2 separate regions of the Homo sapiens genome follow, and region 1 is linked to region 2. Evidence: promoter capture Hi-C in human tissues and cell types (Jung and others, 2019). All regions are on one chromosome and are shown on one strand. The core of a region is centred on a gene start or on the middle of the fragment in contact, and the rest is flanking DNA. Distances in the headings are between cores, read along the strand shown. Region 1 overlaps EFCC1 (EF-hand and coiled-coil domain containing 1). Region 2 holds the start of RAB7A (RAB7A, member RAS oncogene family).

Region 1 (5,105 bases), core at 821-3,320, 290 kb before region 2:
GGTCACCAATGACCAGCACATTGTCATTTGACTCAGGGCTGGCATACTTATGCCATAAAGGGCCAGAGAGTAAATACTTCAGGCTTTGAAGCCCATGAGGTTGTTGTCAGAGCTACTCCACTCTGCACAGGAGCAGTCCCAGAAAATATGTAAACAAGTGGACATGGCTGTGTTCCAATAAAACTTTATTCATCGACACTAAAATTTGAATTTTATGAAATTTTCATATGTCATGAAATATCCCTTTTTTAGTTTTTTCCTAGCCATTTAAAAATGTAAAAACTATTCTTAGTTTGTGGATTGTATAAAAATAAGGGTGGAGCTGGACTGGCCCACAGGCTGTAGTTTGCTAACCCCGGATTTAACTGATGACTTCTGCTCCCTATGGAGACAATTTGTCTCCCTATGGAGGCAAACATGTTTAATGAGCCTGGAGAACTGAGGTCTCATCTTTACTCCCAAGGCCAGCCAGCACCTCTGGATTTCCTAAGATAACTAATCCTATTAGGTTATAGAATAATTGAAACCAAGCATCTGGCTGGGGATAAAAAGACCACCCTGAGGGGCACAGGGACCCTCTTGTATGGCCAGGACTGCATACTATATGGTAGCCAGGAGGGAGGGCTGTTATTTTCTTGCTTCAATGAGCAGCATTGATTTCTGTTGTTTGCAGCCATAACTTCCTGGCTGGTACAGCCTTGAGGAACTCACTTCACTTCTCTGAGGTTAACTTTCTTTCCAGTGAAATGTCTGCCTCACGGGGGTGGGCAGAATGTCTAGGAATGGGCCCCCAAGTTCCACACCCTAATTCTCAAAGCCTGTGAGTGAAGTGAGCCTGTCACTCAGAGATGGCATGATGTTCTGTGGCACAGCTGACCAGAAGACGGGATTATCCCTGTCTAATCACACAAGTCCCTTGAAATGCAGATAGCTTTCTGGGCTGGTGTAGAAGAGGCTGTGAGAGAGATGTGAAGTGTGAGAAGGACATGGGGCAGGTCGTTGCTGGCTGGAAGATGAAAGCAATGTGGGTGAAGGAATGCAGAGAGCAACCCCAGCTGACAGCCGGCAAGGAAATAGGGCCTCGGTCCCACGGCCAAAAGGAGCTGGATTCTGCCAACACTGGAACGGGCTTTCCCAGGGGGTCCAGACCCGGCCAAGGGTGCCTTGCTTTCGGCCTTGTGCGAGCTTGTGCAGAGAAGCCCGCCACGCCCGCCTGGACTTCCGGCCTACGGAATTATGAGGTCACAGGTGGGTGTTGTTTCAAGTCACTAAGAGTGTGGTGATCGGCTATGGTTGTGATAGAAACCAAATTCAGCCATCCAAACAACCACACCCCATCTGCTGTCAGCTCAACCCCGACTGTGGCCTTGTGCTCCCAGAGAGACTTGACTGGCCTGAGCCAATCATGAAGCCGCCTTCACGAAGCCTCAATCATGAAGCTTCCTTCAGATTGGTTTAGAAACAGGCATGTGATGCAATTCTGGCCAAAGAGAGGTGAGGGGAAGTCTGCCAGGAGGACCCGTGGATATGGCAGTGATGCCTGAGGCCATGGCAGCTCTCTTGCAACCATGAGGGGTCCTTGCTGACAGGCCAAAATGACAAGCTGAGGAAAACAGAGTGGAAGATGAATCAGGTCCTTGAAAACTTTACTGAACTGCCAAGGAACTGCTCTCCCCTGGACTTCTCACATGAGATAATAAATGTCCTTGTGGTTTAAGCCATTCTGAGTTGGGTTTTATGTTCTTGCAGCATAAAGCATCATCACTGATAAACCACTCACAGCACTGCTTGGGAGTGCAATAAGGTTGTACAGATAAAGTCCTTAGTGCAGTGCCTAACACCCAGTGAGTGCTCAAAAATGTTAGCTTTTGTTCCTTAATCAGTTCCGCCCCCTCCTGCCTCAGGCCCTGTACGAGTCAGGGTTTGACCAGAGAAGTGGGGCCAGTGTGTGGAATCCATCTACAGCCATGCCTGCAGCTGTAGCTCTGTCTCCAGGGCTTTATGACAAGCAGGTGGCCTGTGTGATCACGGGGGCTGGCTAAATGAGTCTGGAATCCACAGAAGGGAAGCTGGCAGGCAGGTGGAGCTCACGGGCACGGCTTATGGGCTTCCCCAGAGGCTCTAGACACGGGCGTGCCCATGAGCTCCACCTGCCTGCCAGCTTCCCTTTTGTGGACTTCAGGCTTGCTTAGCCAGCCCCCACAATCACACAGCCCACTTCCTTGTCATAAAGTCCTTCAGAAAGAGCTACAGCTTGTAGGCCTGGCTGTAGATGGATTCCACACCCTTCTGTCCACAGGTGGAACTTCTCTTTCACACAGAAGCCTGTTTGGCTCTTGAAGCCCACCCAGACCAGCCAGGATAATGTCCCTTACCTAAAGTCAACTGATGACAGACTTTAATCCATATGCAGAATACCTGTACAGCAACTGTAGCTTAGTGTTTGACCGGTTAACTTGCTGTAACCAAGGGAGCGGTCAAGGCATCACATCAAAGCCAGGGGGACGCATCAAAAGCCCATTACACCGCCTGGGCTCAGTTTATTCTGGAATAGATGAAAAATGTCACTGCTGTCTTTTTCTCTCTGCTTCCTATGCTCTGAGCCGCTCAGTGACTCAGCAAGTCTCAGGAAGCTGCAGAGCTGACAGGTCCCTCAGAACCCAGCCAGGCTACTTTGGGCCATCAGGCCACGGCCACGCTGCAGCACCTACTCTGGGAGGTCCTGGAGGTTCGCACACAGCGGCTTCCTTTGCTGCATGGCGTTTCCTGAGTGAAGCAGCCTTACAGGAAACAGAGAGCAACATGTGAAAACAAGAGAACAACAGCAGGAAGAACAGCTTGGGGTAGGGGGGCGGGATGCAGCAGAGGAAGGGCGGAAAATAAATCACAAGGGGTGGGGGGACAGTCCTCAGGGGTCCTCTGTGACTCCTCTCTGGTCCCTACCTGAATTCGGGAACCCCCCCAACTTTACTGAGCAGGGGATGGCGGTGGGAAGGGTGCAACAGGAGTGTGCGAGCAGACACGGACACTCAGCTCTCGGGGGCGCCGTGCAGGGTGTCAGCCTGGGCTGGGTGACTTCTAAGGCCCTGCCAGCCCAAGCTGCTGACTTGGTTCTTTAATTCACCGAAGGATGAAGTATTGAGCCAGCCACTGTCCTTAGCAATGGCATGGCCCCTGACCTCACAGAGCTTACCCCGCAACCTCCCCCCCCGAAGGAGCAGACCTCAATGAAGTCATCACAAAAATACATGAAGGACAGAAAAGTCCAGGGGCCGTGAAAGACGTTAGGAAGAGGCTGTAGATGGAGGTGGGGCCTCCCTAAAGAGTTGGGGTCTGGCAAGACCTGAAGGGTGAATGTGGATTGGTCAGGAGTAGGCTTGGGGATGGTGGAGGGAGCCGTATGCCCAAAGGGCCTGAGAAGGGGAGCCCTGGAGGGTCAGTGTGGCTGCAGGAGAGGATGGGAAAGGGCCTGGTCACTCACAGTCATGATGGTCACCAGAGGAGGTCACAGGAGAGTTGTGAGTGGGCGAGCCCGAGGTGGGATCTGGGTGTTGAAAAGATTAACCTGATGCTGTGTGGTCCGTGGTTCTGATGGAGCTGGGACACCAGTCAGGAGGCTAGGACAGCTGTCCAGGAGTGGTGCTGGGGCTGGGCTGGGTGGTGGGTGCGACTGGAGAGTAGCAGGTGGGTCTGAGCCACTTGGAGCTGAGACTTAGCAGGACTCCGTGTGTACAGGTGAGGAGGGCTCTTCACCTGCTCCTCCTCACTGGCCCCTCCTCACTGGCCCCTCGGCATCCAGGCTGGCTCCAACCTGCTCGTCCCCGTGCAGGCAGTGCAGACAAGCCAAGCTTGTGCCCAGCCCTGTGATTTTGCTATGGGAGTCACCTCCGCCCTGGATCACACAAGTCATGGCCCCACCTTGCCACTCAGGCCTCAATTCCAGGGTCACATCTCAGAGAAGTCTCCTGTGATGGGCTGGTTGTGTCTCCCCAATTCATATGTTGATGTCCAGACCCCCAGAGCTCCTCATAATGTGATCTTATTTGGCGATGGGACCTTTAATGAGGTAATCAAGTTAAAATGAGGTCTTTAGGGTGGGCCCTAATCCAGTCTGACTGGTGTCCTTCTAAGAAGAGGGGATTAGGACAGAAATACACACAGAAGGAAGACCACGCGAGGATACAGGGAGAAGGCGGCCCTGGCTGCCAGCCCAGGAGAGAGGCCGCAGGAGAAGCCAACGCTGCGACACCGCACTCTGGTCAGCCTCCACAGCTGTGGGAGACAAATGCCTGTTGTTGAAGCTCCTGGTCTGTGGGGCTTGTCACAGCAGCCCGAGCTGACTCACACTCCCTGACCCTCCCCTCGTCCACCCGCTTAGTTACTGGTGGTCAACAGCGTAACGCACTGAGAGTTGGTCCACGAGGGCAGGGTCTCTGCCTCTTCCCAGCTGCCTCCCTCATGCCCAGGACAGCATGGGCCCTCTCTAGGCACTTGACAGAATTTGGTTGAATGAAGAAAAGCCAATGGTTATTTCTGACAGAAAATCATGAAGAGGCAAAATGAAGAGCCTGAAGACTCTGTCTGCCCCTTCCTGGGTCTCTGACTTTGGGTGGCTCCAGGCTTCTCCAGTCACCTCGGTCCTCTCCGGAAAAGCCCCCACCCCCAACTCAGAGCACATTCTGACAGTCGCTCCTGCCCCTGCCTAGTCACAAAGAAGCCACGGCCCTTCCTTGGCCAGGTCCTCTGCCCGGCTCAGGGGGACTGGGTGCCATCATTGCCCACAAGTAGCCCCCCATCCAGCCCCCTGACTACTGTTCTTTGGAGAACAGACTCCTCCATTTCTCTTGGCCCATGTGTCGGGCAGGGCCAATGGCGGGAATGTTTTAGCCAGGTCTAGCTAATCAGAGTGGCAGTGATTGGTCCAGAGTACTCACATGACCCTAGGCTGGCCAGTCAGCATGCTCCATTTCCCTGGTACCAGTGACTGGTTCCAGGATGGGTGTGGCCTATGTTGGAACTACTGGGAAAGAGAAAGTGTTTCTGATGGGGGTGATTGGGAGGATAGGAGCTAATCCTGATGATGATGGTAGCTGTCTTGCTACCTT
Region 2 (4,677 bases), core at 543-3,042:
AAAGTTAAAAAAAAAAAAGACAAATATGAATACAACAGGATTGTGAACGCTAAGCTTTAACTTAGCCGGTCCCTTCTTCAGAAGAAGTACTCCTAACTCACCTTCCAGTCCTTAAACTCAAATCTGAACAAACCTTCCCAAGTTTGAAGAGAGAAACACACTAAGAGGAGACTTTATTCATCCATGGATGAGAAATCATGTGCTTCATCAGCTGCTTAAGTCACAAGAAAGAGACAAGAGTCCGTTCTTTAGGAAACCAAAGATGCAGTATTTTGAATAGGGAAGAACCAGCCGGCTGGACAGCCATCAACTAAGGTTGTAAGAAAGGTTCACTAGGCAGGTTTGCCAGGCCTACCTGCAAAATTTTTCAAACCTCAGTTAAGTACCCTGCCGGTATTCAAGAGCTCCTAATTCGGTGACACTACACCACAATATGTGTGATAAGTCGCAAACGGCATTTCTTATGGCTTTAAGGGAGAACTGATGCTACCAGAAAGACTTTCAAATGACATCAATAGAAAGAAAGGAGGTGGTGGGAGGCACTGAGGTACAGATACCAGGTAGCAAAAGATAAACCAGCAAGCTTCAGGGGTACGTGAAAGCAGTACAACCTAGAAATTTAATACAGTGCTCTGGAGTCTGACTGCCTGGGCTTGCATCTCTGCTTCGTAACTTATTAGCTGTGTGACCTTGGCCAAATGGCTTAGCCTCTCTGTTCAACTTCCCACTGTGTTAAGTGGGCACAACAGTGGTACTTCAGAGGGTTGTTCAAAGAACTAAACATAATGATCTGTTAAAAGGTCTTGCCACGCTGCCTAGCATACAATAAACGCTCAAATATTTGCTGTCAATATTCTCAATATTCCCCTTATGACCCCATTAGGTATCAAGCCTAAAATGAATGCAGAAAGAGGCCCCAAACACGGTCGGAATGGAAACACAACTCTACATCCAACTACCATCTTTCCTCGATTAAGTTGAAAAACTTCTCTCAGGATTTACCGTAACATGCCTAGGACAAAAAGCTCCCTGTCTCCCAGCGCCAGAGGCGCCTCAATGTACACAAGTGTCGAGGCGAGCCCAGCGCACGTGACCTGACTCACTGCCTTGACTCAGTTGCCGTCAGGGAACTCCCACTAACAGGGTCAGGCTGTTCAACTGAAGAACCGGATGGGAACGCGGCTCGGCCCCCAGCGCCTGTGACCCATGCCCGCCGGGTGGGCACGGCGGCGGGCGGCGTGGGCTCTGACACCCTCCTGCTCGCCGCGCTAAGGAACTCCACTGGCCAGCGCGTCCTGCCGCGGCGCAGGGCCGCCCAAGTCAAGGAACCCTCTCGGGTCTCTGAGATCCAGGCCAACAGTAAACAGAGCGTCCGAGACGGGTGGCCGGGGCGGGCAACCCGGCCAGAGGTCACGCCCGACGACCTCCGACCTCTCCAAGCCGGGTGGGGTCTTGGCCTGCTCCGGGGGCCTGAGCGATGCCGGGTGTGCCCGCGTGGCCAGGGCTGGGACTGGAGCCTGCCCAGGAGGACAGGGAGGACGCGAGGCCCTGGCGACCGAGGGGCTGAGGGGGGGGATGGGGCCAGGCCGCCGGCCGGGCTGGGCCCGCTGCTTACCGCGGCCGCTGCGCTGGGGGCTCCGGGCCGGGCGCGTCGCGAGGGCTCCCGCCGAGGAGGAGACTAAACGGAGGACAGAAGCGAGAAGGTCCAAGTTCTGGTTCCAGGGAACTCTCCCGAGCTCTCCAAGCCGCCAACTCCGCCGCTGCCGCCGCCTCAGGCTTTATGGCCAAGACTCCAGGCCCGCTCCCACTTCCGCCACCGCCGCCGCCCCGAGCGGAAGTACCTGTCACGAGACGCTCGACGCCAGGGTGCGGGGGAGGAGCCCCGCCTCAACCTTGCGTCACGTTCCGGCTGCCTCGGGACTGAGCCTGGATCTCGTGCTACAAACATGTCTGCCCCCAAATGGTTGTCCCCATCTTTGAGGCTCATACAAGGAGCAGGACGGCGCCATGTTGGACCCACAGACAGATTCCCTCAGCCATCCCTCCTTACTCCAGAATAAATAATGCCACCGAAGAGGGGACAAGGGGTAAACTGGCCATTCCAGTTGTGTCCTTCTTCGAAAGGCATCATTTATCCTTACTTTAATTACTTAACCAAAAATTATTATCACCATTTTACAAATAAGGAACTGAGACTCAGTATATCATGTCACTTGGTCTAGCTCAACACAGAAACTGGTGGAGCGAGGTTTTGAACCAAGATCTGTCTGATGCCAATATGTGTTATCGTTCTAGTAGACTGCAAATGACTACAGCAATTGTGTGGCTCGGTGATAGAGACAGGAGAAATAGGCACTTTGTCTGGCAGAGGAGACAGCCCAAGAAAATGGAAAATGAGCTAAAGCCTCTCTGAACTTAGTATTAGAGAAGATGTGATAAAGATGGACCGGGTAGAACTCTTCTTGTAAGCACAGAGCAGCCTCCCAAGCACCAGCCCCATCCGAACACATCAGGATCCACTCAGAATTTTTGCCTCCATCTTCAACAATGCCCTCTCATAGTCTTTTCTTATTTTGGTTCATGCAAGCTCCATTCTTTCAATTGTTCCATCCAAAAACCTTGCAATTGTTACAGTAAGTAGTCAGACCTGAGCAGGGCAGGAGAGGGGCCACTCCCCGACCAGCAATGTGAGGCAACCATGACGTGGTTGTCAGGTTAAGCTGTCTCTCTAAAATAATAATTGGTTGCAGCCAGACCAGAGAAAGGCAGTCTCCCAATAGATAAAAACACCTAAAACTGGTGATCAGCAGCTTCCCGATAAGATCTCAGGAGTTGAGGGGTCTGGGGAAAAAAAAAATCTCAAAAGCTAGGCAAGCAGTCTCAACCCTGAGATGGTACAATGTCTGGGGTTTCCCCTACTTTTTCAACCAAAATTGGCTCTTTCCCCAAAACCCTCACCACCTATTCTCCTGTTTTCTCTATGTGTATTCTGAAATGGCCTTGCACACTGCAGAACCATCCGCCTCTGGGGTAAGTCCACTCTTTCTCTGCTTTCACTTTGCATGTGCCCAGGAGTTCAAGACCAGCTTGGGCAACATAACAAGACTGTCTCTTCCAAAAGATAAACAAAAAAGAAAAGAGAAGGCACACATCTACATCAGACCTCTGCAGTTGTACTTCTCTCTACCTGGAAAGCTCTTCCTCCAGGTATCTGCTTGGCCACTCCCTCACTTTCCTCTGGTCTTGACTTTAAAGTAACCTTTTCAGTGAAATAGCCTTCCCTATTTAAAACTGAAGTCCCTCTCCCTGTCACCACAATACAAACACAAAAATTGACATCTCCCTACTGCTTTTCTCCTCTGTTTTTTCTTTTTTATTTTCTTTTTCTTTTTTTTTTTTTTGAGAAAAGTTCTTGCTCTGTTGCCCATGCTGGAGTGCAGTGGCATAATCAGGGCTTACTGCAGCCTTGAACTTCTGGGCTCAAGTGATCCTCCTGTCTCAGCCTCCTGAGTAGCTGAGACCACAGGCGTGCACCACTATGGCTGGCTAATTTTTTTTTTTTTTTTGTAAAGAGAAGTTTTCACTATGTTACCCAGGCAGTCTTGAACTCCTGGTGTCAAGTAATGGTGTCAAGTAATCCTCCCGACTCAGCCTCCCAAAGTTTTTCCTCTTATACTACTCACTTATTTGCATATTGTCTGTCTTCCCCACTAGAATGGCAGCTCCACAAGGCAGCTATTTTTGTCTGTCTCATTCACTGCGATATCCCTGATTCTTGAAACAGTGTTGGGGTACAGTAGGTGCTCAATGTGTACAATTTGCAGAGTATTCAGGGGAATGAAAACTGAAAATAGTTTCAAAGGCCAAGAGTTATGATAATTCCACCCCGTTAGGCAGCCAATCAAAATGCTAGGTTTGAAGGTAAAGTAGCAACTGGGAATGCAGTAGTCCTCATCCCCAGGTTTGGCAGGGCTGACTGCAGGATTTGAGCATCTGAGTCCTAGAACCAATCCACCACAAATAGCAAGGGACAATTATACCAGAAAAGGCAGAGCACAAAAATAAAATGGGACATGTGGGCCCCAGCCTTCTAAGAAGCCTTCTGAGAAGGCTATTCAGATGCAAACATGGACTATTTCCTATGGGAAAGAAAGGACAACTTAGAAGAAACCCATGAGCCAAGAGGATAGAGCCAGGAGCTGCAGATAATCATTCCCAAGGAGCAGGAGGGGACTCGAATCAAGGAACTGGCATCACGTGCCTCGCTGATTTCAGAATTACTATGACCCAGTGGCAGCTGTCGCTCCTGTTTTTTCCCCTTTTGAACAAAAGTGTCTACTATGCTTATCTTCTTCTTGCCAACTCTGTATGCTGGGTCCGTGGACAGCAGATAACATCTCTAGCTCACAGGCCTTCAGAGGAACAGTGCTCAGAGCCGTTCTTAAGGAATTATATCTGAGGAACCTCATCCACATCTGGACCCAATTTACATGGCAAGATCCATTATGAGCCAGTGATGTATTGGGATTGAGACTTTTAGGGTTCTTGGGGGAGTTAAGTAGAGCAGGGCCTCCAGTAACATCATTTCAATTATAACATTGATGAGAAAAAATTGATTCCTGGCTGGGGCCCCTGTCTGTGTAGTTTACACTCTTTCCCCATGTCTGAGTTTTCCTT

What was found. The method cuts DNA at HindIII sites, captures the fragments that hold promoters and counts their contacts. A contact is called where the count stands out against the background at its distance.
Region 1: a contact is called between a fragment that was not itself captured here and the fragment with the promoter of RAB7A in region 2, in 1 of the 25 tissues and cell types used here (bladder).

What each region holds. Positions count from the first base shown.
Region 1 is chr3:129,013,526-129,018,630 of GRCh38, reverse strand. The region is part of intron 2 of EFCC1 (EF-hand and coiled-coil domain containing 1); the gene reads right to left. It also overlaps a transcript of CFAP92 not described here. Among named protein-coding and RNA genes, the nearest start is that of EFCC1, 15 kb to the right of the region's middle. RefSeq lists a silencer at 1,365-1,524 and enhancers at 1,126-1,627, 2,305-2,354, 2,375-2,484, 2,198-2,705. The HindIII fragment of the contact is 6,161 bases long and covers 1-5,105 here.
Region 2 is chr3:128,723,298-128,727,974 of GRCh38, reverse strand. It overlaps RAB7A (RAB7A, member RAS oncogene family), which reads right to left and starts at 1,792. Exons shown (of 6, transcript NM_004637.6): 1 at 1,616-1,792. RefSeq lists a silencer at 1,369-1,658 and enhancers at 925-1,909, 1,939-2,068. The HindIII fragment of the contact is 11,719 bases long and covers 320-4,677 here.